Linked DNA regions of Homo sapiens: region 1 is linked to region 2. The links are contacts of gene promoters, found by promoter capture Hi-C in blood cells and fetal thymus (Javierre and others, 2016). All regions are on one chromosome and are shown on one strand. Each heading gives the region's core, a stretch centred on a gene start or on the middle of the fragment in contact. The rest is flanking DNA. Distances are from core to core; before and after follow the strand shown. Region 1 holds the start of ATP23 (ATP23 metallopeptidase and ATP synthase assembly factor homolog). Region 2 holds the start of MON2 (MON2 regulator of endosome-to-Golgi trafficking).

Region 1 (3,636 bases), core at 727-3,226, 4.5 Mb before region 2:
AGAAATTGTTATGACAAAAAGACAAAGACATAGAATCAACCATTAACCTAAGTGTCCACCAACAGATGGTTAAAGAAAATGTGGTTATGCATACACCACGGAATACTATGCAGCCATAAAAATAATGAAATCATGTCTTTTGCAGCAACATGGATGGAGCTGGGGGCCATTATCCTAAGTGAAATAACTCAGAAGCAGAAAATCAAACACCCCATGTTCTCACTTATAAGTGGAAGCTAAAGACTGAGTGCACGTGGACATACAGAGGGGAATAATAGACACTGGGGACTCCAAAAGTGGGGAGAGTGGGAGGGGAAGGGTGAGGGTTGAAAAATTAACTATTGGGTACAATGTTCACTGTTTGGGTGATGGGTACACTAGAAGCCCAGACCTCACCACTACACAATATATCTGTATAATAAACCTACACATAAACCACCTGAATCTATGTATTAAAAAAGAAAGCATGAAAAAAATCCAAATAGTATTTCAAATGTATATAGGCTATGGTCCATTTCTAGGCATATCTAGCCTGCCTTCAGTATTCCAAACTAATCACACTGAATTGTAATGGCTTAGTTTTCCATATGTGTGTTTTAGTTCAATAACTGGATTGAAAGCTAGTTGTGTGGTCCTAGATAAATTATTGAATTTTGCTGAGCCCACTTTATCTGCAAATTAGAGATAATACTTACTTTGCAGGGTTGTAGTGAGGATTGGAAATAATGTATCCAAGGTGAATTTAATTAAAAAGTAGTTACTTTTTTTTTGACTTCTGGCTTTAATAGTCTATGTACATAGGAGTTGTTTGTATTTTTATAATATTCCAGATGAATGACTATCCTAGCATCCCACTCAATTTAGATATTGAGCATCTATGACACATAAAGCACTGTTCATAACCCTAAAGGCCTGCTGAGCCTATATTTTTCAGATATGTTTCTTACATAAACCACATGCTGCTCTTCATCTTTAGCAATTTTCTTAGTCATGTGTTTCCTCAGTCTCTTACACCTTGCCTGGCCCATCATAGTAGGTGCTGAATAAATGTGTGAGCTGAGTGGAATAATTTAGTAGGAAAAGAGAAACACACAAATTGGATAAAACCTGGCAGGCTACGATGAAAATGATTAACAGGTACAAAGTGCTTTGTACATTGGGAGATCAGGAGACATTAATTTTGATTAAGGTATCTGGGAATGCCCTGTGGAGTAGGCAGATTTGACCTGGGCCCCAATCATAGGGGCTGAGGCAAGGAGCTTAAAGATGGAAATGACAGTATGAGTTAAGGCTGAGAGGTAGAAGTAAACAGGGTGCGCTTTGTTATCAGGGAGTTATTGGTGGGGGGTGGGGCAGAAGAGTAGGGTAAACGAATGGGTACAGGTGGGAAGAAAAAATGTAGTTGGTTCCTACATTTTGAGGATTTTGATGTGACTAGTCATTCTTTATAGTTTTAAAACGTTTCTGAAAAACACTGCTTTCAATATGGCCAGAGGCATCTTTGGGCAGAGTGGATCTGAGGGATGGCAGGGGTCGGGAAAGTGGCGGGCCAGAAATGACAACTGGCTTGCCCCGGAAGAAGGCAGGGAGTGGGAGGATGGCCGAGACCTTCGGCGGCACAAGAGCAGTTAGTGGCCAATATTCGCCCCGAGGTGAGGAAGGAGTGTCTGCGAGGAGGCGGGACACCCTTAGAGCTCAGCAGGCAGCAGGAAGCTGCAGAACAACGCTTATAAAGACATGTCACCCACACTGGGAGGGCAGCAGCGAAATCCGCGGCAGCCGGGTTGTTACAGCCTTTGAGGGAAGTCGCAAGACCCAGCTCCGCCCAACAGCATCGGGCCCCGCGCCCCGCCCCATGCCCTCGCCCCGCCCCTCATCCCTCGCCCCGCCCCTCGCCTCTCGCCCCGCCCCTCGCCTCTCGCCCCGCCTCCCGCGCTCCCCGTCAGGTTCAAAGCCCCCTCCCGCCTAACGTCTTCAGCCCAGCCAGGCTGCCCTTCTTCCCTGCGGAGGGAGGGCCTGGGCGGTCGCGTTGGCGGGAGGGAGGTTACCTTTCCCAGTCTCGCTCTGGCCGCCTGAGCCAGGAGGAAGCAGCGGCGAGGTCTGCGGGAGGCATGGCGGGAGCTCCGGACGAGCGCCGGCGGGGCCCCGCGGCAGGGGAGCAGCTGCAGCAGCAACACGTCTCTTGCCAGGTCTTCCCCGAGCGTCTGGCCCAGGGGAATCCCCAGCAAGGGTTCTTCTCCAGCTTCTTCACCAGCAACCAGAAGTGCCAGCTTAGGCTCCTGAAGACGCTGGAGACAAGTAGGAGCCATGACCTGGAGGCTGTGGTTCCACAGAATGGGTCTGAGACCGGGTGGGCGAGGAAGGGCCTGGGCAACACCTGGCCAGGGGCTTCAGGTTCAGCACAGAGTCTAGACAGACTGGGCATCATGGGGGCTGGGTTGGGAGCCTGAGGCTCAGTTTCCCCACTAGAGGTGGCGCTGAGACCCTTTTCGTCGCTGTTTTTGGCTTGTGGAATGAATTTGTCTGCCCTTTTTTGTCACTCACTGTTGTGACAGATCCTCCGATTTCTTACATAAGTTATGCAGCCACACTGTGACTTCAGGGTAAGGGTGAGGCCAAGTTTTAAAGTGCCAGCCAGGTTAATTAAGGCACACAAAGGCTGTAAAAATGTAAAAATGTAATTAAGGCATACCAAGGCTGTAAAAATATAAAAGCAGTTTTGCAAACCTACCGTTCCTTGGAAGTGGTTCATGCATGAATGGGCTTCAGAGCGTAGAAATCCCTGAAATGGTCTGTGAAATCGTGTGTATGTGTGTGTGTGTGCCCCTAAGTGCATTTTTTTTTTTTTTTTGAGACGGAGTCTCGCTCTGTCGCCCAGGCTGGGGTGCAGTGGCGCGATCTTTGCTCACTGCAAGCTCCGCCTACTGGGTTCACGCCGTTCTCCTGCCTCAGCCTCCCGAGTAGCTGGGACTACAGGCGCTCGCCACCACACCCTGCTAATTTTTTGTATTTTTAGTAGAGACGGGTTTTCACCGTGTTAGCCAGGATGGTCTTGATCTCCTGACCTCGTGATCTGCCTGCCTCGGCCTCCCAAAGTGCTGGGATTACAGGCGTGAGTCACTGCGCCCGGCCCAAAGTGTATTTTTTTTTGGTCGGGGGAGAGAGTTAATAGCTTCATCATATTCTCAAAGAGGCCAACGACCCCACAAAGGTTAAGAACTGCTGTGGGTTAAACAGGGACACAACTGCCCATTGACAAATTTCTCTCCCGTCCCAGAGACATTGCACTAGAGAAGATTTCTTAATTCCTTTACATTGACATAGACTTCTTAAGTTTACTTTCAGATACATTCAGAAAATTAGTCTTAAACATACTTGTCCCAAAGCAAGGTTACTATTTCATAGCTAGTCAGTCACAGTTCAAAAGTCAACCACCGAAAGATTTTCCAACCTTCTTGGGATTACCTGCTTGTAGAGACTCAGGGAGGTAGGAGGAGGAAGGGGAGTTGAGGGTAAAAGGGGAGAGAATGATGATATTGTATTTACTGTACAAATATGTATTGAGTGCCTCCCAGGTTCTGGTGGGGGAAGTAGAAAGATGAGTTAGCACCCTGCCTTGAAGGTGCTTCAAAGTGG
Region 2 (3,519 bases), core at 425-2,924:
AGAACAACAAACAAACAAACAAAAAGGCCTGCGGTGTGGCTCACGCCTTTGTAATCCTAGCACTTTGGGAGGCCAAGGCAGGTGGATTGCCTGAGCTCAGTAGTTGGAGACCAGCCTGGGCAACACAGTGAAACCCCATCTCTACTAAAATACAAAAAATTAGCCGGGCGTGGCAGCCTACGCCTGTAGTCCCAGCTACTCGGGAGGCTGAGACAGGAGAATTGCTTGACCCTGGGAGGTGGAGGTTGCAGTGAGTGGAGATCGCGCCACTGCACTCCAGCCTGAGTGACAGAGTGAGACTCCGTCTCCACCCCCCACCCAAAAAAAGCGCCTCGTTTTTACAAGCTCCCTGAGACCTCAAGAATAATGTCTGCCATATATTCCATTTGAACTTTTTTGCTAAATTCACCAGTTTTCATACATAAAGCTTATACCATAGGAGGTGTCAAGTTTCCCAGAAGTTGTGTAATAGGCACAAATGATCAAAATTACTGCCCTAGGAGCTCTCTACTATTACCTCATCTGTCCCCTTTATCCATCCTTGCTTTGCTTCTTATCAGAAGGAAAAATAAAATAAAATTATTTAGCTTACAAAGTAGCTCTGTTACAGCCAAACAGCGCTATCCACTGACAATCTCATGGCTCACTGTCTTCCATCATGTCATAAGCTCAGCTGTCTGAAGGTGTTGGTTTCTTCATCTCTACTGTTTCTGGTTTTTCCTCCCTCATTTTCTGCTTTCTGACCAGCAGCTGCAAAATGTCTTGGGGAAAAAGTAGACCAACCTGGATCTTGGGGAAATACAGATGAAGATTTTTCTGTTTGGCTTTTGCCTCATATTTATTTGGCACTTCAGACCTGATGAAGGCTTTTATGTATCTGTGCCTTATTTGAGCCTCGAAACTCTGATTTTATAATAGAAGGGTATTCATTCAACAAGTATGTACTGATTACCTGCTATATGCCAGACACTGTTCTAGGTGCTGGAGATACACAGGAAACAAAATAAGATTTAAAAAGAGGAAGAACCGGCAGCCCAACTCGCGAAACTCTCCTTTTAGCTGGGAGCATCTGCCAGTAAAGGGGCCGGGACAGATCTCGTAGCGCCTGGTAGGTGATTGGAGGAATTTTGGCTTTTACTTTGAGTGAGATGGGAGGCCAGCGGAATGCGTGGAGCAGAGGGTAGTCTCATTTTAGAGATTAGGAAAATAAGAGGCTACCCCACAGTAAGTGCACCAGTTGCGTTTAAAGAAAAAAAATGTATATTAACAGGAGGTAGCCACTGATTTGGGGCCACTAGTCCAGAGATTCGAAATGAAGCGGGAGGAGACACGTTAAGATTAATCTACAGGGAAACAAATTATTTACACCGAAATACAATTTAACACAAACATACGCAAAGAGATATGCCAAGGAGTACTCGGGGGCTCTGTTCAGGCACTTGTTAATGAAAACGAAGCGAATCTTGACGCCTTAAACCCTGTCTAGCCTACTTGATTCCGGGGGTGGGGCTGTGGGAATCGCTGCCCACCCGGAATCCCGCCTGCCCCGAGCATGGCCAAGCCCCAGCCCCGCCCCGCCGACGGCCTGCCGCCGGGGTTGGCCGCGGCGGTGGCGGAGGCCACGGTACCCGGAAGTGCGGCTGACGTGTCCCGGCAGCGCTCGGAATTGTGGGCGACTCGGCTAATGGCGTCGGCGAGTCTTAGGGGCCTGGGGAGCTGGCGCTGAAGCTTCTTGCCAGGTTGGCTGGTGACACCCGGTGTGGCTGGGCCCCGCGGCAGCGGAGGGACCTGCCCGCCTTGTGGGTTTCTCGGCCAGAGTCGGCGGAGCCTAGCGGGACGGTGCGACTGCGGGGGGCGCCTCCGAGAAAAGCCAGAGGTGTTGCGGGGAAGCTGCTGGGGGACGCTCGAGCAGGCTCCGGGTTCGCAGCCCAGGGCCCAAGAAGCGGGCTGCTGAAGGACCAGAGACACCGGGAGGGAGCTGCCTGTGGCCCTAAGGAGCTGACCGTGCCAGAGCTTGTTTGTACCTCTCGGAAATTGGCTGGGACCTTGGAGGATCATGTCCGGCACCAGCAGCCCCGAGGCGGTGAAGAAGCTGCTGGAGAATATGCAGAGCGACTTGCGCGCCTTGTCACTGGAGTGCAAGAAGAAATTCCCACCTGTCAAAGAGGTAAGCTTCAGGTGACGTCAGGAGAAGGCACTGTGAGCATGCCTGGTCCTGTTAGACTCAGTGCTTCACCCCAGTTTCCAGTCCTAATTTTCATTCAGGCCTCACCTTTCCAGATTTGTGAGTCGGTGGGTTGTTCCACAAGGGCTTTTTATAGTTTCCACTGGAGAGGGCTGAGGCACTTTGATTTTCTCCCCTCTCCTGTCCTCCCAGTTTAGGAGTGAAGTTCATGAAGTGAGCCTATTCAGTTAATCCAGCTAGGTGTACTGTGCACTAGCCTATTCTGGCCTTTTTCTTACTTGAAACTGGCCAAACCAAAATTGAAAAACTTGTTTGTTGCTCCCCGAAACGAGTATCCACCCATCTTGTTGAAACCTGTACTCCTCACGTTTATGGCATATCACTGAATTGGAAACAATTTTCCTTCTGGTATATATCATTCAGCTTAACTCTGTATCAATCCTTTGACGTGTTAATAAACTATCCAGAGCCACCTAATTTATGAAGAATATTGAAGATCCACATAATCATGTTAAACCTTGTTATGAGCAGTACTGTAGTGGGAAGTTGGGCTTGCAGTCAGAGCGAATACACCTGAATTTAGTTCCAGCAATAAATCTTAACCTCTTTGAGCTTCGGGTTTTTTTTTCCAGCTGTAAAATAGGGTTAAAGGATGGTTTTATATTATGTATGGGAAAGATGTCAGAGCAGAAGGGTATTATTAAAGAGATCCCAGTAAATAATACATGGAAATTTAATTCTCCAAATAGTTCTTGAGGTGAAATATTTAACATTTGGTTACTATTTGCTTTTTCTCTTAAAATGCCATTTTAATTCTCTAAAAAAAAAAAACAAACAAAAAAACCCACCAAAAACAGGCCCGGCTAATTTTGTATTTTTAGTAGAAACAGGGTTTCTCCATGTTGGTCAGGCGGGTCTCGAACTCCCGACTTCAGATGATCCCCCTGCCTCGGCCTCCCAAAGTGCTGGGATTACAGGCGTGAGCCACAGCGCCCGGCTGTTTTTATTTTTATTCCTATTTAATGTAGTTTGTTTTACCTGCAATTTCATTTACTCTTTGCCCTAAAAATTCACCGAGGGATTTCATATTTACATACTTATTTAAATATATCTTTATTATTATGAAGATTATGTAATTAGAACTTGACCAATAAATTTTGGATTTTAGGCTTGTAAGGAATATTGACTTTTCTGTAAGTGCATTGGTTTTATCAGTTTTCAACAAACTCCATCTTGTATTTCTTTAATAAAGTATTACCCAGTGATGGAAACCAGATGTGCCACTTTTGGAAAGATGGCTGTTACGATATGTTTTATTTCACATAGTCAATAGT

Evidence for each region. Contacts are between HindIII fragments. The CHiCAGO score rates a contact against its expected background, and 5 or more counts as called.
Region 1: the fragment with the promoter of ATP23 here is called in contact with the fragment with the promoter of MON2 in region 2 in 9 of 17 cell types (M2 macrophages, non-activated CD4 T cells, total B cells and 6 more); the score reaches 11.7 in M2 macrophages.

Annotation. Positions count from the first base shown.
Region 1 is chr12:57,939,591-57,943,226 of GRCh38, forward strand. It overlaps ATP23 (ATP23 metallopeptidase and ATP synthase assembly factor homolog), which reads left to right and starts at 1,977. Exons shown (of 6, transcript NM_033276.4): 1 at 1,977-2,298. The coding sequence starts at 2,112. RefSeq lists enhancers at 1,846-2,655, 3,112-3,281. The HindIII fragment of the contact is 6,393 bases long and covers 1-3,636 here.
Region 2 is chr12:62,465,152-62,468,670 of GRCh38, forward strand. MON2 (MON2 regulator of endosome-to-Golgi trafficking) reads left to right here and starts at 1,675. Exons shown (of 35, transcript NM_015026.3): 1 at 1,675-2,167. The coding sequence starts at 2,057. RefSeq lists a silencer at 1,377-1,696 and enhancers at 1,727-1,836, 1,832-2,331. The HindIII fragment of the contact is 1,301 bases long and covers 426-1,726 here.